Regions from separate parts of the Homo sapiens genome. Here regions 2, 3, 4, 5 and 6 are each linked to region 1. The links are contacts of gene promoters, found by promoter capture Hi-C in human tissues and cell types (Jung and others, 2019). All regions are on one chromosome and are shown on one strand. Each heading gives the region's core, a stretch centred on a gene start or on the middle of the fragment in contact. The rest is flanking DNA. Distances are from core to core; before and after follow the strand shown.

Region 1 (4,854 bases), core at 1,770-4,269:
TTGAAAAGTTGCACCCACACTACTAAGCTATGACGCTGGGTCACCATCCATGTCAGAAGCAGGAGGTGAAGGGGCTTGGGTCTAAAACTAGAAAACCATGATCAGGAAACAAGAAGTCCCTTCAGGAGGTAATGAGGTACCCCCTACCACCACTGCCCCCTCTTCTGGAGTTAAAAGATCCTATTGAGGCTCCCGGTGCGGGACCATAGCAGGACAGAGCTGAACATCCATTCTCCCTCCCTGGGCCACAGATCCCTGCAAAGAATAATCCTTTAACCCCATTATTGCCTTTCCTCCCTGAGAGAGCTGACCGACCTCCTACAGGTAATAGGCTAAAGGTGCTCTCAACCTCAGGAGACTTCTTTTCAGCACTCACCTAAAAGTTAGTTTCCAAACTTAAAAAGTGTCTGGACTCCAAATATCAAGCTGCCAGTCACAGAACAAAGGCTGTGATCTAGACCAGCCTGGGCAGCATAGTGAAACCCCATCTCTAAAAAAATTTAAAACAGTTAGCTGGGGCCAGGCAGGGTGGCTCACACCTGTAATCCCAGCACTTTGGGAGGCCGAGGCGGGTGGCTCACGAGGTCAGGAGATCAAGACCATCCTGGCTAACATGGTGAAACCCCGTCTCTACTAAAAAATACAAAAAATTAGCCGGGCGTGGTGGCACGCGCCTGTAATCCCAGCTACTCGGGAGGCTGAGGCAGGAGAATGGCGTGAACCCAGGAGGCGGAGCTTGCAGTGAGCCGAGATCGCACACTGCACTCCAGCCTGGGTGACAGAGCGAGACTCCGTCTCAAAAAACAAACAAACAAACAAACAAAAAGCTGGGTGTGGTGGTGTGCACCTGTAATCTCAGCTACTCTGGAGACTGAGGCAGGAGGATCGCTGAAGCCTAGGAGTTCGGGGATGCAGTGAGCTAGGATCCCAACACTGCACTCCAGTCTGGGCAAAAGAGCAAGACCCAGACTTTAAAAAAAAAAAAAAAAAAAAAAAGCTGTGATCCCCTTAAAAGTCCTAATAGGCCACCACTATCTGCCCTTTTGGCAAGAACTTTTGGTCTCCCTCATGAGTGGTTTTTTTTTGTTGTTGTTTGTTTGTTTTTAAATACGGATGTCCTAGATTTTTGTTGTTTTAAGTGAACAATCTCTCTCTTAAGTGCAGACAGCCATCACATTTTCCAGAAGGAGAAATGGAAACAGTTGGAAAGGCAAGTCACTTTGCCCAGGGTTTGCTGTTTTTCACAACCTCAGCAATGAGGAGCTTTGCCTCAATAACTCAAGACAAAATATATTAATAACTCCAAGGCTCAGAATCCAAAATCATCAGAAATCTGGAGAAGGAGCCAGCTGGACTCCTCACTCAACTGAACCTGGTTAGATCAGTAAATGCCTCCGGGCTGCAGTTTCCCCATTTGTGAACTTTGGGCTAATGGAGAAACCAGGAGAGACCAAGGTTTTGGATAAGTCACAGAAAGGATACTACATCATCTCAAAGGATGAAATGCAACTTCTAAGAATTGCAAAAAGCAGGCAAAACTAAGTGAAGATGCTTCTCTCCCTCCCCTCTAGAACTCACACTTTCGCACAAAGAAAGGCCTTTGAAACACAGCACTCTGCCGTGGTCTTTACTGGGGTGGACAGCAACCTGTCCCAAGCCCCAAGCCCTCAGGAGAGGCATATTTCTGGGCAATATGTCTCACTCAACTAACCCCAGCCCTATTATCCGTGGGTCCACTGATAACTGCAGAAAATTGCCAGCTTCCTTCGCAGCCAAGGACTGTAACAGAGAAGGCCATAGATTGCAAGCCGGATGACCCAAGAGGCAAAACTTAACCAATGCTCCCAGAAGCTTTTAGGCACCATGTGGGAGAAAATGAGGCGAAGCCACTGGGGCGTGGTCGGAACATTTTTACCGGGGAGAGCAGCGCGAGAGTATAAGGAGTAAAGAACAGGCGGGGCGGCTGGCTCTTCCCTAACAAACGCCCACCTAACGGTGGGGACTGGTTCTTGCTCAAAGATGCGGCCCTGCTCTTTCGATTGTGCGGTGCGCCCCAGCTGTTTGCAAAGGTGTGGTCAGCACGCAAAAACTCCAGACGTCATTTTGATATTTTTAAAACGTTAAACGCCACCAGCAGCCAGCTAAGAATTAACTCTTAGGAGTGTATAAGCATATGGGTGTATGAACTGGAGGGCATCCGAGAACTGGCGTCTCCCACTGGGCCCTGGGAGAGGTGGAGAGTGTTACCTGGCCAGGTCGAGGAAAGAGTCCACCGTCTCTTTGGGGACAGGAGGAGGCCCCGAGTCCTCCAGCCCCAGGTCGCTGGACTGAAGGGTCTGCGCACCGGATCCTGGCTTGATGATGAACGCCAAGGCCACGGCGAGCGCCGAGGCACTCAGTGTGGTGAGGCCAAAGTAGGCGACAGCGATGCCGCCCAGACGCCCGAGGCAGCTGGCATCGAGCGAGGCGGCGCCCGACACCAGGCTGCAGACCACCAGCGGCAGGATGATCATGCGCAGCATGCGGAGCAGCATCTCGCCGGGGAAGGCCAGGTAGGTGACCTGCGTGCGGCTCAGGCTGAGCCCGCGCAACGCCGCGCCCAGGCCCGCGCCCGCCAGCACCCCGGACACGGTGAGCAGCACCAGCGCTTGGCGCCGCAGGAAGCCCGCGCAACGCCGTGCGCGTCCCGCCGCGGTCCCCGGAGCTCCGGGCCCGGCCGCAGGCCCCGCCTGAGCGCTGTCAAGGTAGCCGTTGGTCTCGTTGCTCTTCTCCATGGCGCTACACGCCGCTCCGAGCTAGAGGTGGCAGGGGACGTGGGCTCTGGCAAAAGACGGGGTTCCCAATGAATGGGTCGGTCGGCCAGTTGTGCTCCGCAGGTTCTGGGAAGCCGCCCCGGGGGTCTCCGGGCCTGGCGCAGGAGCAGGTGCGAGAAAGGCGAGGAGAGGCGCAGAGTGCGGGTTGGAGCCGCGGGCGGAGAGGATCGCGCCCAGCCTCCCTGGAGCAGCCGCCGGCTGGAGATGATGCAAACGGGAGCCGCGAACGCGGACGCAGACGGGGAAGTAGGAGGGCGCGCCAGCGGCCCCAGCCCGCTCACTTCACGCCCGCCGTCCCGCCCCCTGTGGCGCTGGCCAATCACAGCCCGGGAGCCGCCGCCGGGAGCCGCCGCCGGGAGCCTCTGGTCCCCACCCGTGTCGCGGGTGCCGCAGGGGGCGGCCGGGCGGGAGGCTCCACCCGAGGCCGCGGGGGCGCGGGCGGCGCCGGCCAATCCTGGCGCCAATAGCCGCCTACCCGCCCGGCTAACGGAGGCCGGCTCCGGGCGACCGCGGGGAAGTGCGGGCTGAAGGACCGCCCGGGCTCCTTGGCACCTGCCGGGCCCTCTCCCGCGGCCGGGATCTGAGTCCTCGGGGCCAGAGGGCCCGGGAGAACTTAGAACGCAGCGGCGTTCCTCCTCCTGAGGACTGTGGGAGGGGAGGGAGGGGAGGGGAGAAGAGAGGAGGAGAGGGGAGGATCCCTCTCTCCCGGGTGGCGCTTTCGCCCCGCGCGGCCCGCGCTCCTCTCCAGAGCTCGCCGGCCTCTCCCGCCAGGGGGCCGGGCGCGGTGAGGGGGCCCGGGGCGGTCCTGCCGTCGCGTCCCCTCCTGCGGAAGATCCCTTCTTCCAGGGGTCCTCAGGGGCTTGTGCGGTAAAGCACGCCATGGTGCCCAGCAAGGCCCCGGCCTTGAGACAAAGGACGGACCGGAGGATGGATGAATAAGGGGAGCCTTCGCACGCGCTCATTAGGGCTCTAACGCAGCCATACCGCTAGAGAAAGGGGGCTCGCTGTGCCACCAAACCCGGCGCCCCTGGGCCGCGGAACCGCGCGCACCGGGGCGCTCCTGGGCTTGTGTCCTGGGGCCATCAGGATGGGGCTGGGTCGCCCGCCAGGCAGCTGTCTGCGGTATGGGCGTTTAAGACGCAAAGCTCTTCTAGAAGAAACAGAGCTCTCACGCCACCACTTCCAGTTGGTTTCTGCCACGTAACCAAAGCTGAAACACAAGCCACTGGATTTTAACCTCTTCCGTTCCCAGGCCTGAGCCCTGGCGAGAAAACAGCGCAGACGGCGGTTTGGCCATCCTGAACGGTTCCTTATTGTTCACGTTCTATGGATTTCCTGTTTATTTCATCTTTTATTTGATATCTGCTTTGGCCACGCGAGTTACAAGGGAAACTTCTGCTGAGTCTTTTTACTGTATCACAGTTATTATATTTTTATATTTTTTTATTCTGCTTGTGAATTGTTCTTTAAAGACTTCCGTGGGTGGTCTTTTGTTTTTTCTTTTTCCTTCCTTCCTTCCTTCCTTCCTTCCTTCCTTCCTTCCTTCCTTCCTCCCCCCCTCCCTCCCTCCCTCCCTTCCTTCCTTCTTTCCTTCTTTCCCTTTCTTTCCTTTCTTTCCTCTCTTTCTGGGACAAGGTCTCGCTATGTTGCCCAGGCTGGTCTCCCAGTTCCTGGGCTTATGGGATCCTCCTTGGTAGCTGGCACCACCCACTGTGCCAGGCAAGGGAAGACTTAATTGTGGCTAACCTCAATTAAGGAGGAAGGCAATTTACTATAGATTTCTTGCTATAAAGGAGTCATCTTAAAACATGTCATGACATATTTGTGCAAATCAAAATGCCTTCATAAGGAACTTTAAGGAGCTGTCCAAATTTTGAGACAGTGAGTATTTTATTGCTTGGAGCCAGCCAGCTATTGGCTAGAACTTGTAAGGATTGTGTGTGGGGGGGGGGGGGGTGGGCGGGGGAGGTAGTGTCAGATGAAGAGCTGCACATATTTATATCTGGCTTTCCAGAATGCAGTTCATTTCTCTATGTGCACT
Region 2 (4,289 bases), core at 211-2,710, 600 kb before region 1:
AAAAAAAGCTGGAAAAGTCTAGGAAGCAGATTCTTCCATAGAGCCTCTGGAAAAAATGCAGCCCCACTGACACCTTAATTTTAGGATTTTTAACCTCCAGAATTGTAAGAGAATAAACCTGTGGCTGGGGCAGTGGCTCATGTCTGAAGTCCCAGCACTTTAGATGGCCAAGGGAGGAGGATCCCTTGAGGCCAGGAGTTTGACACTAGCCTGGGCAACATGGCCAGACTCCATCCTACAAAAAAAATTTTTGTAATTAGCTTGACATAGTTGTTCACACCTGTAGTACTGTCTACTTAGGAGGCTGCGATGGGAGGATCCCTTGAGCCCAGGAGTTTGAGGCTGTAGTAAGCTATGACTGCACCACTGTACTTCAGCCTGTGTGACAGAACAAGACCTTGTCTCTAAAAAAAAATAAATTAAAACTTTAATAAATTTGTGTTGCTTTAAGCCACTATGTTTATGGTCATTTGTTACAGCAGCAGCAGGAACCTAATACACTGAATACTCTAGACACATACCTCTCACTCACCCAAAAGACACATGCACTCACACGCACACACACACACACACACACATATGCAGATCGCTGGAGACTGTCCATCTCAGCTCCCCAAACCCTAAGTCTTACTTTAGCCTCTACATGGACATCAAGCCTCACAGTTCTTGCAAGTGTCCACCCCACCCGCTCCTCTCAGAGCTGCCTCAGATCCCCTTAAAGACTCTCTCCCAGTCTTCAGTTTTTGTGGCTCTCATTCACTTACCAGTGGAGCTATTCTTTTTATTAAGCAATTAACAGAAAAAGTCCAGATTTCCCTAAGCCAAGCCTGGGAGTGACTATGCAAGAGAGGGGTCTTTTATGTGAGATGTAAAATACATTATATCAAGACCTGGAAAAAGCACAACTCCCTTAAAAATAAATATACAAATAAACGGGGACTTCCTCCAAGGAAGCTTGCAGGAAGCTTAATATAAAAGTAGACCACCCACAGTAACTTTCTGAGCCAGTTATTTGGAGAACCCCCAAAAGAAAAAAAGGATTCCTTCCGGGTGCGGTGGCTCACGCCTGTAATCCCAGCACTTTGGGAGGCCGAGGCGGGTGGATCACAAGGTCAGGAGATCGAGACCATCCTGGCTAACACGGTGAAACCCCATCTCTACTAAAAATACAAAAAATTAGCCAGGCATGGTGGCGGGCGTCTGTAGTCCCAGCTACTTAATAGGCTGAGGCAGGAGAATGGCGTGAACCCGGGAGGCAGAGCTTTTAGTGAGCTGAGATGGTGCCACTGCACTCCAGCCTAGGCAACAGAGCAAGACTCCGTCTCAAAATAAATAAATAAATAAATAAATAAATAAATAAATAAATAAATAAAGATAAAAAGGATTCCTGGCCTCTTGGAATCCATCCCCTGCCTTTGGGAAGCTTCAGGGTTCAAGTACACCAGGACTATGTCTGATGGCTTCTCTTGGACTTAATGAGGAGGACAGAGGCACTGATACAGGATATTCTGGATTTAGTAAATATCCCTGAAACCTGTAGACATAACAGAAACTAAAGGATAGCCCACAAAATCCCAAGGACATTTCAAAAAGCCTGGCTTGAAGGCCCCAGTGACAATGCAGTAACTAATTTGGAGGGTCACTGGAGTTAACAGTGACAGATCTGTGAAAACACAATCTCAACGAAGTGTCGACTGCCCTCTTTCCACTGCCTGGTGCCCATTAATCTCTGTGTGGTTAGTGCTGATAATTGTTAGGAAAAGGAGAAAATAGATTGATGATAGCCCTTGCAACTCCCAGCCTGGGATCTGACCACGGAATTCACCCCTGAGCAGCAATCATGGAATCTACTGTTTTACGCAGTTGAACAAATGAACTTATAGACTGTCTGAGCACAGGATCTTTAGTTAATACCTCATTGGAGAATTAACATTTAAACTTCTTATCACATCCTAAGTGGATTATCAATTTAAATCAGAGATATGGAGAATTACGCAAGTAGTGTTTGTATGTTCAGTGCTAGCTTAAAAATTTCAAGGATTCTTTTACACAGCCAAAGGAAAATAAAAATGATTCTGAAACAGAAATTATTTGGGCCAGGCAACCTGGCTCACGCCTGTAATCCCAACACTTTGGGAGGCCAAGGCGGGCAGATCACCTGAGGTCAGGAGTTCGAGACCAGCCTGGCCAACATGGTGAAAACTCATCTCTACTAAAAATACAAAAAAAAAAAAAAAAAATTAGCTGGGCGTGGTAGCATGCACCTGTAATCCCAGCTACTCAGGAGGCTGAGACAGGAGAATCGCTTGAACCTGGGAGGCAGAGGTTGCAGTGAGCTGAGATCATGCCACTGCACTCCTGGGTGACAGAGTGAGACTGTGTCTCACACACACACACACAAAAATCATTCAGTGAGCAAAGGTACAGAGTATTTAGAAAAAGCATATTGCCCCACACTTAGACTTTCGCAGAGATCTGATAGTCTCTTTAAAAAAATGAAAGACCCTGGCCAGGCGCAGTGGCTCACGACTGTAATCCCAGCACTTTAGGAGGCCAAGGAGAGCGGATCACAAGGTCGGCAGATTGAGACCATCCTGGCTAACACGGTGAAACCCCATCTCTACTAAAAATACAAAAAATTAGCCAGGCGTGGTGGCGGGTGCCTGTAGTCCCAGCTACTAGGGAGGCTGAGGCAGGAGAATGGCATGAACCCAGGAGGCAGAGCTTGCCATGAGCCGAGATCGTACCACTGTACTCCAGTCTGAGCAACAGAGCGAGACTCTGTCTCAAAAAAAAAATGAAAGACCCTGCAGACAAAATATCAAAGATAAGAACCATGAACAATAAAATTAATAGGAATGATCATTAAAATTTTTTTAATTTTGTAGGTCAAAGATATTGAATAATATTAAAATATAAACCACAAATGAGATAAATAACTGCAACATATTTGACAAAAATAGGTTGATGTCCCAACAAAGACCTCTTTACTCAATAGGAAAAAGGCACACCACTAAAAATGTAAGCAAATAAGACAAAAGAAGGAAAATATATGATAAATATATGAATATAAAGTAATATCCAACCTTATTTAACCAAAAGGTACACATTAAAACAATAAGTTTTTCCCACCAAGTAAGACTTTTTAAATGAGTAGAAATTTGGCCAGGCACGGTGGCTCACGTCTGTAATCCCAACACTTTGGGAGGCCGAGGTGGGCGGATCATTTGAGGTCAGGAGTTCGAGACCAGCCTGGCCAACATAGCAAAACCCCGTCTCTACTAAAAATACAAAAATTAGCCAGGCATGGTGGCGCACACCTGTAATCCCAGCTACTGGGGAGGCTGAGACATGGGAAATGTTTAAACCCAGAGGCAGAGATTGCAGTGAGCCAAGATCATGCCACGCTCATGCGTGGGCGACAGAGCCAGACTATGTCTCAAAAAAATGAAATAAAATAAAATGAGCAGAAATTCCCTTTAGTTGCAATCTCTGCTTTCTGTAAAAAAAAAAAAAAAAAAAAAAAAAAAGGGAGGAACTACAAAACCTGTTCTTTGTATTGTTTAAGGAGCCCTTCCATACTTGTTTGGTTTTTTTTTTTTTGAGATGTAGTCTTGCTCTGTTGCCCAGGTTGGAGTGCAGTGGCGCGATCTCAGCTCACTGCAAGCTCCACCTCCCGGATTCACGCCATTCTCCTGCCTCAGCCACCCGAGTAGCTGGGACTACAGGCGCCCACTACCACGCCCAGCTAATTTTTTGTATTTTTAGTAGAGACGGGGTTTCACTGTGTTAGCCAGGATGGTCTCGATCTCCTGACCTCGTGATCCGCCCACCTCAGCCTCCCAAAGTGCTCGGATTACAGGCTTGAGCCACCGCGCCCAGCCTACTTGTTTGGTTTTTATCCTGGGATGTTTTCATCATCCATTTTCTACCTAACTATGTAGGTCAGGCCTTCTCTAAATAGAAAGGGGTGGTTTTTCAGAAAAAAATAAACAAATAAAGTTAAATCAGATCAAGATAAATAAAATAAAAATAAAATGGGCAGAAACCTTCTCACACACCACCAGTAAAAATGTAATTTAGGCCGGGTGCAGTGGCTCACGCCTGTAATTCCAGCACTTTGGGAAGCTGAGACGGGTAGATCACCTGAGGTCAAGAGTTTGAGACCAGCCTGGGCAACATGGTGAAACCCTGTTTCTACTAAAAATACAAAAATTAGCCGGGCGTGGTGGCACACACCTATAATCCCAGCTACTCGGGCGGACGAGATGGGAGAATCGCTTGAACCC
Region 3 (4,704 bases), core at 664-3,163, 940 kb after region 1:
CTCTTCAGCAATTAGCAACAAGGTATCACAAATTAGCTAATTCATAGTAACCTTTAGGAAATCTCCCATGACAGCCTCATTATTTCCTCCATCCTTCTAGTTCTGTGTACCTTTATGTATTCTCCACGCCCCTAGCAAGACAGGCAGGTGAAAGGATTTGATCATTTTCAGGACAGCATTCCTGAGCCTTGTTCCTGATTTCCTACAAAAATCCCAAATTGCAGCCGGGCGCAGTGGCCCATGCCTGTAATCCCAGCACTTTGGGAAGCCGAGGCAGGCGGATCACCTGAGGTCAGGAGTTTGAGACCACCCTGGCCAACATGGAGAAACCCCGTCTCTACTAAAAATACAAAAATTAGCCAGGTGTGGTGGCGCATGCCTGTAGGCCCAGCTACTTGGGAGGCTGAGGCAGAATTGCTTGAACCTGGGAGGTGGAGGTTGCAGTGAGCTGAGATCGCACCATTGCACTCCAGCCTGGGCAACAAGAGCGAAACTCCATCTTAAAAAAAAAAAAAAAAAAAATATTCCCAGGTTGCTCCTTGGGATTTTTGCAGGAGGCCAAAAATGGGAGCAGGCCTAGCACAGTGTCTATCTCATTGCATAAAAGCTTGAATTGTTTGTTTGTTCTGTCTTTGGTGGGGACAGTGTGCCCAAGAAAAGGAAGAACATTTCCCAAACTCAGAAAAAAGAAAGCAAAGGCATTTGGGACATGCCACCCCAAAATATGCTACTTTGGTATACTAATTATTTGAAGCTGAAGACACTTGAAAGACAGCAAATGCAGGGAGAGGCTTTCTCTGAACTCTCCCTTACCTGCCTGAAGACAGATCCTCCAAAATGAACTCAGTTGTCATTAATTCCCCTCTCTGGTAGGTTAATCAACCAGGAAGATTGACTATTACAACAGGACAGAAGATTAGAAGTGGACACCACTTCTATTACATCTATAATAGAATGTAAGAGTTTGCTACAAACGATTCCATCTCCCTAAGGGCTCATTCTTTCCCCCAAATTATTTACCCTCTCCTAAGTTGTCCATATCCCTCTTCTTCTTTCCCCTACGAAGACAGTATAAGCTCCCAAATCTCACCACTTTTTTGGGTATTCATTTTTTTTTCTCTTGTGATGCCCCATCCATGCAATAAATTTGTATACCTTTTCTCCGGTTAATCTGCGTATTGTCAGTTTGTTTCACAGACTCAAATTTTAAACCTAGGAGGGTAGAGGAAAAGTCTTTCCCTCCCCTGTAAAAGCAAGAATGAGGTGCTAGTATAGGGCCCATCATTTTATGCCCCAGAGCCTCCTCTTCCTTCTCCATTCTCCACTCCCACCCTGAGACCATTCACCATCCATCAGCTACTGTGGTCTACCCCCCAACACAACTTTTAAGAGTAGGTTTTGCTTACCATTATCTTCCTGCAAAGGGTACTCACGACTCTAAACTCCTCTCCCTGAATTGTGCCGTTGTATCTGGGAATTTATCAAACTTCAAGAATTCCTTAGGGATTCCAATGTTGAGTAAACTCAAATATAAACAAGCTGACATTTACAACTAAATATCCAATATCCAAAAAGTTTACAATATAAGAAAATAAGGCCAAACACCAATAACTTCTAAGCAAAAATAGCCGAAAGACAAATGCCTTGCTGCCTGGTTTTTAGCCTTGTAGAATCTGTGGCATTGTTATGGTTGATACAATTGTAAAATATCTGCAAAACATTTGCCAGCCTCTTGATGAAACTGAGTTATTTTCTTCACTGTAAACCACGGGAGAGCCCCAGATTGCCACTCCAACATCTCCTACCTGTATTCACAAACAGGAAGATGTAGGCTATGAAAGCAGGAAAGGACAAGAATATTTTTGTTGGTGTAAGAGAAGGCTTTTTAAAAGTTGCCTCAACAGCCAAAGAAATGAAATGAAGCCTTGTATTATCTGATCCTTCTACACATTTGTGTGTGTGTGTGTGTGTGTGTAGTTTTTCAAATAACTTTTTTTTTTTTGAGGTGGAATCTCACTCTTGTCACCCAGAGTGGAGTGCAATGGCGCGATCTCAGCTCACTGCAACCTCCGCCTTCCAGTTTCAAGCGATTCTCCTGCCTCAACCTCCCGAGTAGCTGGGATTACAGCCGCCTGCCACCACACCTGGCTAATTTTTGTATTTTTAATAGAGACAGGGTTTCACCATGTTGCCCAGGCTGGTCTCGAACTCCTGACCTTGTGATCCGCCCGCCTCGGCCTCCCAAAGTGTTGGGATTACAGGCATGAGCCACGGTGCCCAGCCTCAAGTAACTTTTAAGGCAACATTTTATTTAAAATTCTGCCTCTTTAACTTTCATTTTTTTTTTTTTTTGCTTCTATAGTTTTTTATTTGCATTCATTTAACACACAATTTTATAATTTACACATTTTTAATGTCTTGAATTATTCCTTTGAGTTGTTATATAAAAATTTACCTAGTTGTTGAAGTTTAGTTTCCTATGTTTTTCATTTTAGTTCATACTGAAATAAATATGTTTGTGGAAAGTGCTTTTCTCCTTACTGCAAGTTAATCTACAATCCATTACAGTGAAGAGCATGTGGCAATGCTCAGCAAATATTATAATTTTGTATAATAAATTATCAAGAATGAGAATATGGGGTAAAACAAACATTGAAACAATTCTGGTGTAAAAAAACAACATCTTGATACAGATTACTAAATAGCTTTCTAAAATAATTCTACTTATTTGCTATGTCAACAGATAAGTTGTTTAACACATTATTTCCATCGATACATCTTTTTAAATCTTATTCATTAAGAAGAGATTAAGGTATGACAAGAATACTGGTTAAATCAAAGGACATAGAGAGTATGAATGAATATGGAGAGTGTGGGTCACATTTTCAATTTTTTTTTTTTTTTTTTTTTTTTTGAGACACAGTTTCGCTCTTGTCTCCCAGGCTAGAGTGCAATGGTGCGATCTTGGCTCACTGCAACATCCACCTCCCAGATTCAAGTGATTCTCCTGCCTCAGCCTCCCAAGTAGCTGGGATTACAGGTGCCTGCCACCATGCCCAGCTAATTTTTGTATTTTTAGTAGAGATGGGTTTCGCCATGTTGGCCAGGATGCTCTCGAACTCCTGACCTCAGGTGATCCACCTGCCTTGGCCTCCCAAAGTGCTGGGATTATAGGCATGAGCCACCTTGCCCAGCCTCAACTGTTTTTAAAATCTTGACTATAGTTTAATTTTTCATTTAAGTCCGCATTCTAACTTGCAGGGCAGAACATGTAATGGGATCAGTTAACCATCCCAATTTGAACATCTTAAATCTTGGATCGGTTTTAGCCCAAAGGACCAAAGTGGGTTTGAATTTGTTATAAGGTGAATTTCCAGCTAGCAGGGAAGGACAAGAGGCCACAGAACTTGGCCATTCAAAGTGTGGTTTGCAGACCAGCTGCGCCAGCACCACCTGGAAGCTTGTTATTAGGTTGGTGCAAAAGTTATTGTGGTTTTTGCCATCAAAACCGCAATTACTTTTGCACCAGCCTAATAGAAATGCACAGTCTTGGGCTTCAGCCCAGAGCAACTGAATCTTAATCTGCATTTCAACAAGAGCTCCAGGTGCTTCTTATGCACATTGAGTTGGAGAAGCCACCTTCTAGACAGTGAAAATTGCTACTGCCAGTTGTCTAAGGGCTTTAGTAGAAAAGATAGTTCACCATGAATATTAAAACATGAATCTAAAGGTAACAAAAAACCTTCTATAATTTTAATTTGGCTGGTTCTTTTGAAAACATTCTTTATAGTATAGTTCGGCTTTTAAAAAAGTCAAATATAGGCCGGGTGCGGTGGCTCACGCCTGTAATCCCAGCACTTTGGGATGCTGAGGCAGGAGAATCGCTTGAACCTAGGAGTTAGAGGTTGCAGTGAACTGAGATCGCACCATTGCACTCCAGCTTGGGCAACAAGAATGAAACTCCGTCTCAAAAAAAAAAAAGTCAAATATATTATGGAGAGTTTTAATACAAGCTTCTTTTATTTAAACCATCCTAGCAGATAATGGATTATCTGATTTCTAAAACCAAGCTCCTCAGGACCTAGAAGAGAAAGCTTGGCAGATCAGGAACAAGAAAGTCTGGGGAAGGATGGGTATATGTGAATAGGCACAAAGTGGGCATGAAGATTACATGGTAATGCCTACCAGCAAGCACCATCTACCACCAAAGAGGCACTAAACAACCAGAAGTCAAAATGACACGGCTGGTTGACTTCAGCTAGCTTTCATCATCAGCATCTAGTGCTAATATGTTATATACAAACAGTGTACATGGCCGGGCATGGTCGCTCACGTCTGTAATCCCAGCACTTTGGGAGGCCAAGGCGGGCAGATCATTTGAGGTCAGGATTTTGGGACCAGCCTGACCAACATGGTGAAACCCCATCTCTACCGGAATACAAAAATTAGCCAGGCATGGTGGCAGGCACTTGTAATCTCAACTACTTGGGAGGCTGAGGCAGGAGAATTGATTGAATCCAGGTGACAGAGGTTGCAGTGAGCTGAGATCATGCCACTGCACTTCAGCCTGGGTGACAGAGCAAGACTCCCTTTCAATAATAATAATAAATAAAAATAAACAGCGTACCATCGTGGCAGAGTGCAGGGTATGAAAGGTCTTAAAAACATGGGCTCTTGGGAAGTCGAGGCTGCAGTGAGCTGTGA
Region 4 (4,939 bases), core at 877-3,376, 660 kb after region 1:
TCTGCCTCTTTTTTTTCCTCACCTCCTCCTAAGGGAAAAAGTTGTTTTCCTTCCTGCGCCTCAGGGCAGAGCAGAAGTTGAAATGGACTACTTGTTCCTAATATTATTTACAGTTCAGCAAAGGACTTGGGGTCTCCAGCCTCAGGTCTAGAAACTCCTTCCACAGCCACACCCTGAAAAGGACTAGGTTAGCAGCAAAGCTGGGGCTCCTGAGATAGTATGCGATCTTCTGGTGGCGCTTTAAGCTTGTGGTATAAACTGAGGTGGTCTCAGGTCTCTGGGAAAGAGAGGATCTCACAACAGAAACATTTTTCCAGAAAAGGGCGCAGCTTTAGAGTTGCCTTAATAACATGGGATCTAGCGCCACCTAGTGCCTGCTGCGGAGCTTGACATGGGTCTTGCTCTGATAAGGTGGTTTTGGTTTTTTTGGAAATTGGCTTTAACCAAGAGAGAGACCGAAATGGAGAAACACGTTTTCTGCACACAGGGCTGTCCTCATGCCCACGATGAGGGACTGAGAGTTTGGTGGAAGAAGCTGAAAAGCTACAATCTTAATGTGTCACGGACGGGGGTGTTGGGTGAGGGGATGGGGGAGTCTTTCTCTTGGAAGGAAGCTGGGGTGACTCACAAGTAATATTTAGAGTCTTAGTCCCAGAAGATTGGCTTGGATTTGTCTGCATGAATATTTTTGCTCACACTAGAAAAAAAATACTGGTGCTATTTTATGACTTCTATGCTTTTCAAACTAGTTTCTCAGAGCTCTCCCAGAGCCAGCATAGGGGCTGCTTACAAAAAGCCCTTGGAAGCTGCTTCACTGTGGAATCCACTCCCGCTCCTTGCTACTGCCTACAGGACAAGCAGCCCTCCTTTTTTGTCCTGCCACTGTCTGGCTGCCCTCTAACCCTCTACTAATTAAAGCCACCATTTGCTATTTGTTTAACGTGATTCATTTCAACCTCAGAACAGCCAAGGCAGTGGATATTGGTAATCTCAACTGATCTTTAGGGAGGTTACAGGACTTACTCAAGATCTTTCAGCTCATAAGCAGAAGTGGGATTTGAACCCAGAGTTATTGAGCTCCAAAAAATTTGTTCATTTCACTACAGTACTCCATCTGCACTGCTAGGGGTAGTGGCTATTGCAGAGGATGCTACAATGTCCAGGAGGTTCCAGGAGGTTCTTGAGGAGACAAAGAACCTCTGAACTAGAGGACTTCTAGCTTGGAGGACACTTCCTGCTCTGGGCCTGTCCCTGTGACTCCAAGGCCTGGCTCGATGCTTGGTGTAAACACCTCCCTCCTCACAGCATCTGCCCTCCCTCAACACAGACATTTCCTCAGCCTACACTTCTCCACCCTTGGAAACCACCCCAGAGGAATAATGAGAGCAAAGAGCAGGGCAGGGAGTTGGCAACTCTGTAGAATGCCAGGAGAATCGTGGATTTGTCTGACTTCTGGGCTTTGGCCTCATCTGGTGGAAAACTGTGAAAATTCCCTACTGGCTCCTCCCTTTCCTTCCCTCCAGGCCCCTCCACCATTCTCCACCAAATAGACACACCTCCAGAAGAAGGTTAAGTAAGGCTACTCTCTGGATGCCTCTGAAACAAAGTGGTTTGCTTAAATGTACAGATTCAGAAATAAAGTTTAAATGGGGCAGCAGGCTGCAGTGGGACCCACACCCTGACCTCCATAAATGGATAAATGTTCAGGCTGCTGGAAGACCATGGAGGTGGTTTGGGGGTATCCGAGGAGCACAGAATTAAGAGACTGGGACTTCAGTCCCCATTCTGTCACTCCTCAGCTCAGTAATTTTGGGCAAAGTCACTTAACTACTGTGAGCATCAGTTTCTTCACTCAGAGAATGAGGACAATGATTCTCTTACCTGTAAGCTAACAGATGAACAAGCGCTCGGTAAAGCCCTGTAAGGGTGTGAGGTACCATACAATGAAGGAACTATGGGCATGCAGGATTTAGCTGAGAGTGCCTTTACTCACTTCGTCCTTTCCCTACCTCTCCCTCTTCCCCAAAAGGAGTCTGTCTCCTATAAAAGGGGTCTTAATACAGACTCACACACACGCACACAGGGTCTTCAGTTCTTGTGGGCTTTTCATTTTTTTTTTCAGAGTTAAATCATCTTGGAAAACAGCTTTTCCAATAAAGACCCAGTGGCCAGGACTGCTGGATGCACTTTCTTTAAAGGTGGCGGGAAACGCAGAAGCAGGAAGGTCCAGGACGGCATCCATCCTGTGCAAGGAGAAGGTCCTAAAAGGCTATTTCCTCTGCTACCAACTAAGAAAGATGGACGTTTGTAGCTGGGCACGGAGGCTAATCATCCGTAATAGTCTGGCAGTGCTAATGCATTCAGGGGAGAGCAATTAATGCCTGTTGGGGAACATCAGGACAGAGCTTAGAGTCTTGCAGCCTCTGGCAAAACCAGTTTGAAAACCTCAGGCTCCATTTCTAGTTTAGGGTGTCTCCACCTGGCTTGGCAAACTCTGTGCCTCTGCAAGAGGGAAGAAATAGCTTCCTAAGTGAGGCTTGGGAGGAACAAAGGCCTCATTAGGATCAATCACTTATTCCAAGTACACATTCCCAAGAATCTCTATTGATGATCTCAGATACAAATGAAGTAGTAATTAAGGATGTAATGCAAATGATCTTCAGCTTAGTAACTCTCTGTAATTGAAATTTACTAAATTAAGTCTGAGATTTTTGAAACTAGGCCTTTAAAAAAAAATTCCCCGGTTATAATTACCCCTTCTCCTCCCTCCTACCCACCCTTCAGTAATGTAATTAGTTTAAAATAAGATCCGTGGTAGGGCTGATGATGCGCTGCCTACTGAAATGCTGGCCTCCTATCAGCAATCCCCAGGGAGTGAAGAGAACAGGGGCTCGCATCAGTCAGAAAGGCCACTGTCGTGTTACCAAATATAGGACAAGGAAACCGGACACAGAGCTTGTGATACCGACTGTGCTGGGCGGGAGAGATTTCTCAGCTCTCCCTTCTGTTTCTTTCCCCTCTGCCCACAGACCTGGGATAAGCTATGGACCATTCAGAGAAAGAAGGGAATAGACTGGAGTAGGAGAGGAATTGGAATGTTTAGGGGGTGCTGAGAAGGCCCCTGACAGGAGAGACAGAGGGCTTGGGCAGATCAGAAACCTGGCTGTTTTCTCAGAGGCCAGAGTGCTAAATCTCCATCAGTAATAGCCCTGCGACTCGTCCAAATCCTGTCCTCTGCCACCTGATAGGACCACCCCTGGCCTTAGCTCATTTCTCCTGATATGCCCCAGCAGAGGGCAATGCCCGCTAAGCTCAGCCTGCCCAGAACCCAAGAGGAGCCGTGTGGGCAGAGAAGGGGCCCCAGCAGGCGCTCCAGCCTCCCCGTTCTTTTCCCCAGTTTGGTTTTTGTCCCAAAGTGGGACAAAGAAAGAGGATTGAACATTGTCCTGGGTATGTTTGATCTTCTAGAAGAGCATATTGGCCTATTTCATTTAATTCAGATGAAAAGACCAGCTTGTCTTTGAGATCACACTCTAATTTCATCAGAGCTGTCATGTGAGAACAGAAGAGAAGCTACCCACAGCCTTCCTCCTTCCCTTCCCCACTCCTCCCCTCGCTCACCCCCACCCTCCCAGCCCACGGCTTCCTGAAACTGTTAGATCAACACAGAAACACCTGAAGCCCATTGACCCTCACAAGGCAAAAGCCAAAGGCTGCCAGGGCCATCTTAAGATGCCGCACGAGAACAGCAGCTCCCTGGCAGGCAGCACAGACCTGAAAGAAAATGCGTTCTCCCACTGGCCCCCAGCCTTTGAAAACTGCGTGTGCGCACGCGCCTGCTTTCTGTCATCCATTCACATCACCACTGTTAGAAACTTCCATAAATGCTCAACTGAAGCGCTTCTGTCAGAGACAAGCAGCAGAGTTGTTTCTGGAGAGCACAGCAGGTGTATGTTCCATTCGCAAATCAGATGGAAAACACAGACAATAGCAATCTTGTCTCTGAATAAGCCCTTGCTTAAAAGTTGCCCTTAGCTAATGTGGGCACGTTGACTGTTGGATCTTGGTGCCCAGTGTAGGGCCTGGCACGTGGTAGGTGCTTGATAAATATTAGCTGAGTGAATAAATGAATGACTCACTCTTCTTCAAAAACTTTCAGGAGCTTCTCAGTGGTATGGAAAAATGACATGATTCTAAAATCTGGTATTGGGGATCCTGCAATCAGATGCCTGCCTGCCTTGCCCGCCTGGTCCCATGTTGCCAGGCTGGAGTGCACTGGGCCGATCTCGGCTCACTGCAACCTCTGCCTCCCGGGTTCAAGCGATTCCCCTGCCTCAGCCTCCTGAGTAGCTGGGACTACAGGCACATGCCACCACACTTGGCTAATTTTTTGTATTTTAGTAGAGATGGGGTTTCACCACGTTAGCCAGGATGGTCGCGATCTCCTGACCTTGTGATCCGCCCGCCTCGGCTTCCCAAAGAGCTGGGATTACAGGCGTGAGCCACCACGCCTGGCCAAGACTCTGCCTTTCTAACAAGTTCCCAGACGATGCTGATGGTGCTGGCCCAGGACCACATCTTGCGCATATCACTCACCCTGCATCCCACCAGCTGGTCAAGGTCCTGCTCAGATGCTACCGTTTTTGTCAACAAAACTGGGCACACTAGCAAAAAATGCACCCCCTCCCCGCCCACTCACCTCACTGCTACACCCCTCTGTGCCTGCCAAGACACTTTGTATCTGAGCTATTTGGCTGTGTCTCCCTGACCTCAGGGGCCTAAAGTTCTCATGCCTTTCCCCGTACCCCACAGAATCTCATTTAGTGCAGCCGGGGACACGCTACCAGCTGGGGCAGATTCCGTTCCATTCACTGGGACCTTAAAGAACTTCAGACTCCTTGATGCAGCACTCAGCCCTGGGGGTCCAAAGATGCATGAC
Region 5 (4,548 bases), core at 416-2,915, 830 kb after region 1:
TCAGGAGATCGAGACCATCCTGGCCAACATGGTGAAACCCCATCTGTACTAAAAATACAAAAATTAGCCAGGTGTGGTGGCGCGTACCTGTATGCCAGCTACTCGGGAGGCTGAGGCAGGAGAATCGCTTGAACCAGGGAGTCGGAAGTTGCAGTGAGCCGAGATGGCACCACTGCACTCTAGCCTGGTGACAGAGTGAGACTCCATCTCAAAAAAAAAAAAAAAAAAAAAAAAAAAAAATATATATATATATATATATATATATAGAAATCAAATATATTCTTCTTCAATTGCAGTGAATGTAGTTTATCTTTTTGTTCTTTTGTAGCTTAGAGAACAGAATGTATATCATGATTATCATTACGGGACCAATCATCAATACAGTAATATAGATGGGGAAAGTGTAGGAAATGGAGTTAAACATGCATTAAAGATGTAAAATATACATTGTTCTTTTAAGTAAATGATTTGTTTACTTGGCTGAATACCTGAATTTAAAGTTTGGAGGTTTTCTGAAGAACATCTCATGTCCTTTCTTTCTCACCAAAGTATACTGCAGGGGAAAATCCAATTATTTTACCTTTCTAATAGTTTGAATTCCTGATAAATTATAATTTCTTATAATTTGTAAAAACATTTAAAAATACTGTATGAATCATCATTAACACATAATCTAAGTTGTTATTAAAGGGCTGGGACTACTGTTGTTTTATTTTTTATTTTTTCTAGGAAAACATGAAACAAGGAGGGACTATTTTTTATTGGGCCCTTATTTATTTTATTAAATAAAGGTTATTTGGCCTTTATTTTTATTGGACCCTTTATTTATTGTATTAAATAAAGGTTAACACAAAATAGCATAAACCTTTATTTAATATGTCTATTTCTACTGTTTCTCTGTATTGAAAACTTTATCTGGTATCATTAGAAAATAGATATTCCACATAGAAGAATTTTCTAAGTACTTGAAACTCATTCCTTTAAATCCACAGATTAGTTTTATTTTAACCATATCTATTTTTAGACTTTAAAAATATACCATACATTACCCTGTTTTCTTAAACGGAGACTAACCAACAGAATGCAGTTGTTTCTCAATTATTAGAGTCTTAATTTTACACATTCATTATAGTGCCATTTTTATATTCAACCATTTATGCATTCAACAAAGCCCTCAATGACTAGCATAGTATGTTCAGTACTGTTTCCTTCTACACAGAGTGGCCCAGACTGAAATGTTTTTTAAGCGCCTGTGTTTGTAGTTTTTTGTTACAGCAGTGAGGTATAGTGAGAAAAATTAAGCTTTGGTGTCAGACAGACCTGGATTCAAACTCCAGGTCCACTGTTTACTAATTGTGCAATTTGGGGAAATGTATTTGACTTTTTAAAGCCTTAATTTCTTCATCTAAACAATGATGATGGTAACTTGCAGAATGGTTGTAAAGAGTAAATGAGGTAATAACTGTAAAGAGTCCAGTGCTCCCCAGTCTTCAGCTCCCATCCCTGTTGTTCTGCTCTTCACAGTTCTTGCTCCTGCCAGTTCACGGCTCTCTCTGTCTTTTTTTTTTTTTTTTTTTTTGAGTCGGTGTCTCACTCTGTCGCCCAGGCTGGAATGCAGTGGTGCGATCTCGGCTCACTGCCTAACAGGTTCAAGCAATTCTCCTGCCTCAGCCTCCTGAGTAGCTGGGACTACAGGCATCACCATGCTGGCCAGGCTGGTCTCGAACTCCTGACCTCTTGATCCACCTGCCTTGGCCTCCCAAAGTGCTGTGATTACAGGCGTGAGCCACCGCACCCGGCCATGGTTCTCTTACTGTTCCCTGTTGCTTCTCAACCGTGAAAACAGGAACCTCTGATGCTCTGTTCGTTGCTGTGTCCATAGACCCTGCTGTTTGCCAGTAGTACCTGAAAGTGTGGACACCAGTAGAAAACTTGTGTTTGAATCCTGACGCTACTACTTTCTACTGTGTGATCTTGGCTAAATTAATCAACCTCTCTCCACCTCAGTTTTCTCATTTGTAAAATGAGGGGAGTCATAATACTTACCTCAGAGGATAAAATCAGTTGCTTGTGGAATTATCCCTCACACATAGTTAACACACAATAGATGTTAGAATCTGTAATGAATGGAAAATTTTTGTTGTTTCTAATCTTCTATGGCCCGAGGAATGAAATAATCAGGTTTCTTTCAATGAGTTTAAAACATAATAAATTTTTCTATTAATCAAGTTTCTGAGCTTCAGTATATAGCTTTTTAAACCTTTTCTTTTTTTTTTTTTTTAAAGCAGCTCAGAGGTTTTACTTTGACTTCTGGGTTAGTGAGTCCTATTTTGATTGCTGGATAAAGATCTCAAGGTAATTGGGATTTTTACCACATAGAACTGCGAGATAGCCTTTTTTTCTTTCTTTTCCTTTTTGTTCTGTTTTGTTTTGAGACAGTTTCCCTCTGCTGCCCAAGTGGGAGTGCAGTGGCATGATCATGGCTTACTGTAGCCTTGACCTCCCAGGCTCCAGCAATCCCCTCACCTCAGCCTCCCAACTAGCTAGGACTACAGGCATGTGCCACCACACCCAGTTAATTGTTTTTCTTTTTTTTTAGAGGCAGAGTCTCACCACATTGCCCAGGCTGATCTGGAACTCCTAGGCTCAAACAATCCTCCTACCTTGGCCTCCCAAAGTGCTGGGATTACAGGCGTGAGCCACCATGCCTGGCTCTTTTTCTTTTTTTCTTACTATATGATTGAACTCCATTTTTTTCTGTTCCACTTGTAAAGATAGATTTGCAGTTTTATGCTAAGCCAACCAGTTTGCCTGTGTTTCCATGTACAAATGTTTGCCTTTTATTCACGGATAGCCAACCGTATCAATAGCCAAGTCCATAGTTCACCATGTTATCAGTAAAGCCGTGATATTTATAAATCTTAACACCTAACTCATTTCATAATCTACTAAAACATCAAATATTTATATTATGTATTCCATTTCCTTGTGTCAATTATCACCTATTTATCTTCAACTACTAGCCCAGTCTAATCCTCTAGCTGAATAATCTGTTGGAATTTGGAAATGGAGAGTAAAAGATGAGGGTAAATAGCTATTGTTGAGTAGTGAATAGCAACAACTTTTTTAGGATAGCAAAATTATCTCATAAACGTTACATATTCATGGTTCTAATTGAACAATGAAATCTAGCAATTGAATAAACAAATGTTTTAACTGAATCTCAAATTACAAAAGGGCTTATTTTCTTATTTTGTATCAGTTTCACTGCTCTATACCTATAGAACAAGGTTTCTATGGTTCCTTTTTATGCTTATTTATCAAGACATAATATGACCATTGATTCCAACATTAGTAGCATTCTAATGGCAATTTTTTCTCTCTGTTGTGTCAAAAGTCATACATAAGCATATGTATCTATGCTGTCATTCTCTTCTGTTCCCTGGACATTTTTGGTTACCCAAGCAATCTAAGGGACTGCTTGAATTACACATTTGTTAGGGTTGGTTGGCCAGGATTTAGGTGTAGCATGCTAGAGACTAGAAATTCTAAAACTTTCCCACACAATGGAAGACAGCTTGGGGGTGAGGGAATTCTTGGCAGTATCAGACTTTCCCAGAAGGCATTTGGCATTTGCTCAGTGATTGCAACATAGCAGACACTTTTCCAAGGGGAAAGGTGAGATGCAATAATGACTGCCAGCTAAACACCATTCCCAAATCTTAACATTACACACAGTCACTAATCTGGCCCTTTGTTACCTCTCAAAGCTGTACATGGGGACCTGTCTTCAGAGTAATTTGACATGTTCTGATTTTATTATTAAGTATCAACTAACAATGGTCTGCAACCCCTAGCCCAGGCTGATACTCCAGTTGAATAATCTATAGGAATTTGGAAATGGAGAGTAAAAGATGAGGGTAAATAGTTATGGTTGAGAAATAAATAGCAACAAATTGCTCAAGATAGTAAAATAATGTCACAAGTGGTAATATATGATTGTAATAGAAGAATTAAATTTAGAAATTGAATAAACAAAACTTCAAGCTGAACCTGAATTTATGAAAGGGCTTAGTTTCTTATTTTATATCAATCCTACAACTTTTATGAACAAAACAAGTTTTTCACTGAATTCTGTTTTATTCTTATCAATCAGTAAAACTACTTCTGAATGATGGGGCTTTCTTGGATGTCTAGTCTTCTAAGAGAAAAAAAATCACTTCTCACAAATTTCCTAAATATTAAGTCTGGTCAGTGAGAAACTAAAATGTAGGTATATATCATAGTGATGATAATCTGATTAGCCAAGTTGTTTTCTTTAAAAATACATACTCGTGGGCTTTTCAACACCTTTTCTCCCTCCATATGAAGGGACTTTTTAAACCGTCTTCGTATAGTCTTTGAAATTCTTATATCCAGATAAAACTGGTGAGTGCAAGCAAAATATCCAATAAACAAAGAATTGAGACCCAGGCTATGGCTTAAGGCATGCTGTTATAAGTTCTCAATGTAAGAACATCTTAGGAGTGGGGATGATAGGAGAGCTTT
Region 6 (4,305 bases), core at 90-2,589, 850 kb after region 1:
ACAGTCAGTAATTTATCATGCTAAAATTTCAACATACAAGGTGCAATGAAATCTGTTTTAGGGATAGTACACTTTTGAAGGGGGCTAAAGCAGGGACAGCAAATAAATTTCGTTTGGGGTACCAAATCTGATTGTTTAGTGGTGGCTGCCTAGAGTGCTGTGTTTAGAAAACTGGGAGTCCTTGTTCAAACTTAGCAGGAAAGAGTACTGTGATTAGCAATTTCTGCTGTTGGTGAGCGGTGGACTTTTGGCATGGATGCCAAATACATTCAGTGTTTATTGATGCCGTTTACATGTCACAGGTCTAGATGCTGATACCTCATAGACTAAAATCTCTGCTTTCATGGTGTTTACATTCTAGTAATAAGACACAAACCATAAAATAAATAAAATACATTGCGTTTTAAGAAAAATGGCTGGGCGCAGTTGCTGACACCTGTAATCCTAGCACCTTGAGAGGCTGAGGTGGGAAGATCCCTCTTGTCCAGGAGTTCAAGACCAGCCTGGGCAACGTGGTGAGACCTTGTCTCTACAAAGAAGTTTCTTAAAAAATTAACTGGACGTGGTCCCAACTACTCGGGAAGCTGAGGTGGGAAGATCACTTAAGCCTGGGAGATTGAGGCTGCAGTGAACCATGATTGCACCACTGCACTCCAGCCTGGGCAACAGAGCGAGACCCTGCCTCAAAACAATAGAAGTTAAAAAATAAATAAAAGAAAAATGACCTGATTTATTCAAAAAATTAATAGCAAGAAATAGGGAGGGAGAACTATAAGATTAAAAGAGACTTAAGAGGCTTTTCCACCAAATGCAATGTATGAAGCTTAGTTCTATCCTGCTTTGAGCAAACTAACTGTAAAAAGACATTTATTCAAAATTGGGGAAATTTAGACTCTGGATATTTAATGAAAAGGATTTGTCCATTTTTTCAGGTGTGAGAATGTACTTTTTAAGTGTTCTTTTAGAGATGTATAATGAAGTGTTTACAACTTAAAATGTGATGTGTGGGTTTTTACTTCAAAATATTGAAAGGGAGAGGAACATAGATGAAACAAGATTGGCCATATATTGAAAATTGCTGAAGGTAGATGCTATATGGATACATGAGGTTTCTTACTTCCTCTTTATTTTTGTGTATGTTTGAAATTTCCCCTAATAAACAGTTTTACACACAAACAGGAAAATAAAGCAGGGAAGGGGAAGGGAGAATAAATGGGATATGTGTATGAGGTTCGGAGGAGGATGCAGTTTTTTGCTTTTTGTTTCTTGTTTTTTGTTTTTGAGATGGAGTTCTGCTCTCATCACCCAGGCTGGAGTGCAGTGGGGCGATCTCAGGTCACTGCAAATTCTGTTTCCTGGGTTCAAGTGGTTCTCCTACCTCAGCCTCCTGAGTAGCTGGGATTACAGGCACACGCCACCACGCCCAGTAGAGTTTTGTATTTTTAGTAGAGACAGGGTTTCACCATGTTGGCCGGACCGGTCTGAAACTCCTGACCTCAGGTGATCACCTACCTCCGCCTCCCAAAGTGCTGGGATTACAGGTGGGAGCCACCACACCTGGCCAAGATGCAGTTTTAAAGGGTAGTGAGAAAAGACTTCATTGAGAAGATGATAAATAGTTAAAGTGAGTAATGACCTGAAGGAGGTAGCACAGCAAGCCTTGCAGGTCTCCTTGGAGCAAGACATTATACACAGAGGGAATAGTAAGTGCAGTGGCCCTGAGATGGGAGCGTGCCTACAACTGCAAGAAACTACAAGAAGACAAGGGTGTGAGCCAGGCATAGTGGCTTGCACCTGTAGTGCCAGCTACTCAAGAAGCTGAGGTGGGAGGATCATTTGAGCCCAGGAGTTCCAGACCAGTCTGAGCAGCATAACCAGATCCTGTCTAAAAAAAACAAAACAAAACAAAAAAAACTAGCGTAACTAGATCAGGGTGAGCGTGAGTACATAAAATCAGCATCAGCATGGGAAAGGAAGGTTAGAGAAGACTAAATTGTGTAGGGCTGGTTATCCATCTTTAAAGGAAAAATATTTTATACACTTATCTAAAATAAGTCTTATACTTTAGAGTAGTCACCATGGAAGCTATACACTTAACAATACTAGCATTACTCAATATTTTTAGAAAAAAAAATTTTTTTTGTCGTCTAAGCCAGTTTAAGAGCCACACGTGAAAATAGCTCATTACTTTGTATTTGCTCCTTGTTTTTAAGGAAAAAAGGGGTGATTGGCCACGTGATATTTCATGTTATTTATCAGATATGACTCACAGAGGATCTTGACAGAAAGAAAATGGGAAGTAACTTGAGGCTATTTCTAAAAATCAGATCCAGTCTGAGAAGGCAGTTATTGTTTGTAAAAGTCAGATCCACCCATAGACTAAAAAGGAATTTTAATAATGTTGTGGATAATTGTAGCATCATTTGGAATAAGGGTATATAACCTCTGAGAGTGACTAGTATGGAAGGCACCATACTAATTTGGATATTTTAAGGTCTCACAAAATGCGCACACACACACACACATACAAGATCATATACAATTCTTAATACTAAGTATCAAAACAGTAATTTCAGGTAAATTTCATTTATATTCTGCATTCAAGACTAAAGGGATGGTATTTAAAACACAGTGAAATTGTTTAAGTCTTGTCGCTATGGCATACACTTGGGGAAGGAACTAAAAGACTAACACATGTTAGTGTTAAGAGATGAATCTGGTTCTTAAGTCTTCTTATATTCATGCTTCATTTCTCAGATTAGTAGTTGTTTTGAGAACATTCTGATTTACCATAAGAACTGTTTTTATTAAAAAAGGCATAGGAAAAATTGGATCTCATCTAAATGTTTAAATGCCCCCAAAAACCTCAATAAATATGGATTGTAAAAATCTACTCTCAGGACAATATACATGTAGGATTACTAATTTTGAACAATTACTATACTAGTTCATTCTTTAGAGGTACAGTTTTTCCAACCTGAGAAACTAAACATTTCAGTGATTTTTACTCTCCTGATAATATTGAGTAAAGAAAGCCATTCTTTTTCTTGTTATTTATGTCCAATGGTGGGGGAGCACAACGTTTTCATTTGTTTTGTTTTGTTTTTGAGACAGAGCCTTGCTCTGTCACCAGGTTGGAGTGCAGTGGCACAATCTCGGCTCACTGCAACCTCCACCTCCTGAGTTCAAGTGATTCCCCTGCCTCAGCCTCCCAAGTAGCTGGGATTATAGGCGCACACCACTACGCCCAGCTAAATGTTTGTATTTTAGTAGAGACAGGGTTTCACCATGTTGGCAAGGATGGGCTTGATCTCCTGACCTCGTGATCCACTGCCTCAGCCTCCCAGAGTGCTGGAATTACAGGCGTGAGCCGCCGCGCCCAGCCTCATTTGTATTTTTAACCAATCATTTAAAATGTAATGCCATGAAGTAGAACTTATGAACTTTTATTATGTAGTTAATTACATAGTGACCACTAAGAATATAAGTATATAACTGTGTAAGGAATACTTTAACAAAGCTTCCTATTTTAAACATTTTTCAGTAAATTGTTAGGAATCTAGTTCTTTAATTCACTCAGAGTTTTTGTCCCTTTAGTGTGTGTAGATGTATGTATGCATGTGTATGTATAGATAGCCAGACTCTCTTACCATATACTGCACATACTATCAGGGCTGAGCTGCTAGACTAGATTATTTAACGTATTTTAAACACTAGTTTGTTAACATGGAACAACTGAGCCCATATTTAATTCCTGGGCTTTCCATTAACTCTGAAAGTCTTTTAAAACCTTTGATTCATCTAAAAAAAAAAAGTGGCAGTGGTTTTTCATAAAGATCTTTGAACTTCTATGATGATGACCATACTGAAGTGTAACTTATTTTAGAAAGCTTTCATTCAGGCTGTTGATTTGCTGGTAAGATCATGAATCTGTTTTTCATTTCCATTTTTGTGGAATAAATGAATAACTTCTGACGGAAGAGAAAGAGAGGGAAGGCAGCAAGAGAAGGAAGGAAAGGAAGAAATTGGATCTCACAAAATAGTAAATATAAGTATGGATAATTCTCTGAACTTGGATGTGCTTAAGTGTCTATGACCTAATGAGCTAAGGCTCAGATGTGTAAATTAAGTAGAGAATAGAAGTAATAATACACCTTGCATTTGAAGAGAAGTTATTGCTTTGCAAAAGTGCATCTTACATTTCATGTTGACTTAAACCTTATGACCATGATAAAATCTATACTTAATTTTGGAAATAATAATGAGTAACAATAATTGAGAGATTATTTGAAAATTCAATCTATT

The links. The method cuts DNA at HindIII sites, captures the fragments that hold promoters and counts their contacts. A contact is called where the count stands out against the background at its distance.
Region 2: a fragment that was not itself captured here is called in contact with the fragment with the promoter of SLC1A4 in region 1 in 1 of the 25 tissues and cell types used here (thymus).
Region 3: a fragment that was not itself captured here is called in contact with the fragment with the promoter of SLC1A4 in region 1 in 2 of the 25 tissues and cell types used here (dorsolateral prefrontal cortex and thymus).
Region 4: a fragment that was not itself captured here is called in contact with the fragment with the promoter of SLC1A4 in region 1 in 1 of the 25 tissues and cell types used here (dorsolateral prefrontal cortex).
Region 5: a contact is called between a fragment that was not itself captured here and the fragment with the promoter of SLC1A4 in region 1, in 1 of the 25 tissues and cell types used here (spleen).
Region 6: a contact is called between a fragment that was not itself captured here and the fragment with the promoter of SLC1A4 in region 1, in 1 of the 25 tissues and cell types used here (hippocampus).

Annotation. Positions count from the first base shown.
Region 1 is chr2:64,987,564-64,992,417 of GRCh38, reverse strand. SLC1A4 (solute carrier family 1 member 4) reads right to left here and starts at 3,019. Exons shown (of 8, transcript NM_003038.5): 1 at 2,248-3,019. The coding sequence starts at 2,774. RefSeq lists silencers at 2,620-2,799, 3,010-3,709 and an enhancer at 2,433-3,017. The HindIII fragment of the contact is 13,271 bases long and covers 1-4,854 here.
Region 2 is chr2:65,584,187-65,588,475 of GRCh38, reverse strand. No RefSeq gene overlaps it. Among named protein-coding and RNA genes, the nearest start is that of LINC03050, 16 kb to the left of the region's middle. The HindIII fragment of the contact is 4,701 bases long and covers 1-3,810 here.
Region 3 is chr2:64,044,956-64,049,659 of GRCh38, reverse strand. No RefSeq gene overlaps it. Among named protein-coding and RNA genes, the nearest start is that of VPS54, 28 kb to the right of the region's middle. The HindIII fragment of the contact is 4,282 bases long and covers 1-4,054 here.
Region 4 is chr2:64,326,478-64,331,416 of GRCh38, reverse strand. LOC105374769 (a long non-coding RNA gene) reads left to right here. Exons shown (of 3, transcript NR_187908.1): 3 at 750-936. Among named protein-coding and RNA genes, the nearest start is that of MIR4433A, 12 kb to the left of the region's middle. RefSeq lists enhancers at 3,379-3,538, 4,878-4,939. The HindIII fragment of the contact is 4,522 bases long and covers 1-4,387 here.
Region 5 is chr2:64,157,060-64,161,607 of GRCh38, reverse strand. No RefSeq gene overlaps it. Among named protein-coding and RNA genes, the nearest start is that of PELI1, 15 kb to the right of the region's middle. The HindIII fragment of the contact is 3,586 bases long and covers 1-3,458 here.
Region 6 is chr2:64,135,704-64,140,008 of GRCh38, reverse strand. The region is part of intron 1 of PELI1 (pellino E3 ubiquitin protein ligase 1); the gene reads left to right. Among named protein-coding and RNA genes, the nearest start is that of PELI1, 6.6 kb to the left of the region's middle. The HindIII fragment of the contact is 7,153 bases long and covers 1-4,305 here.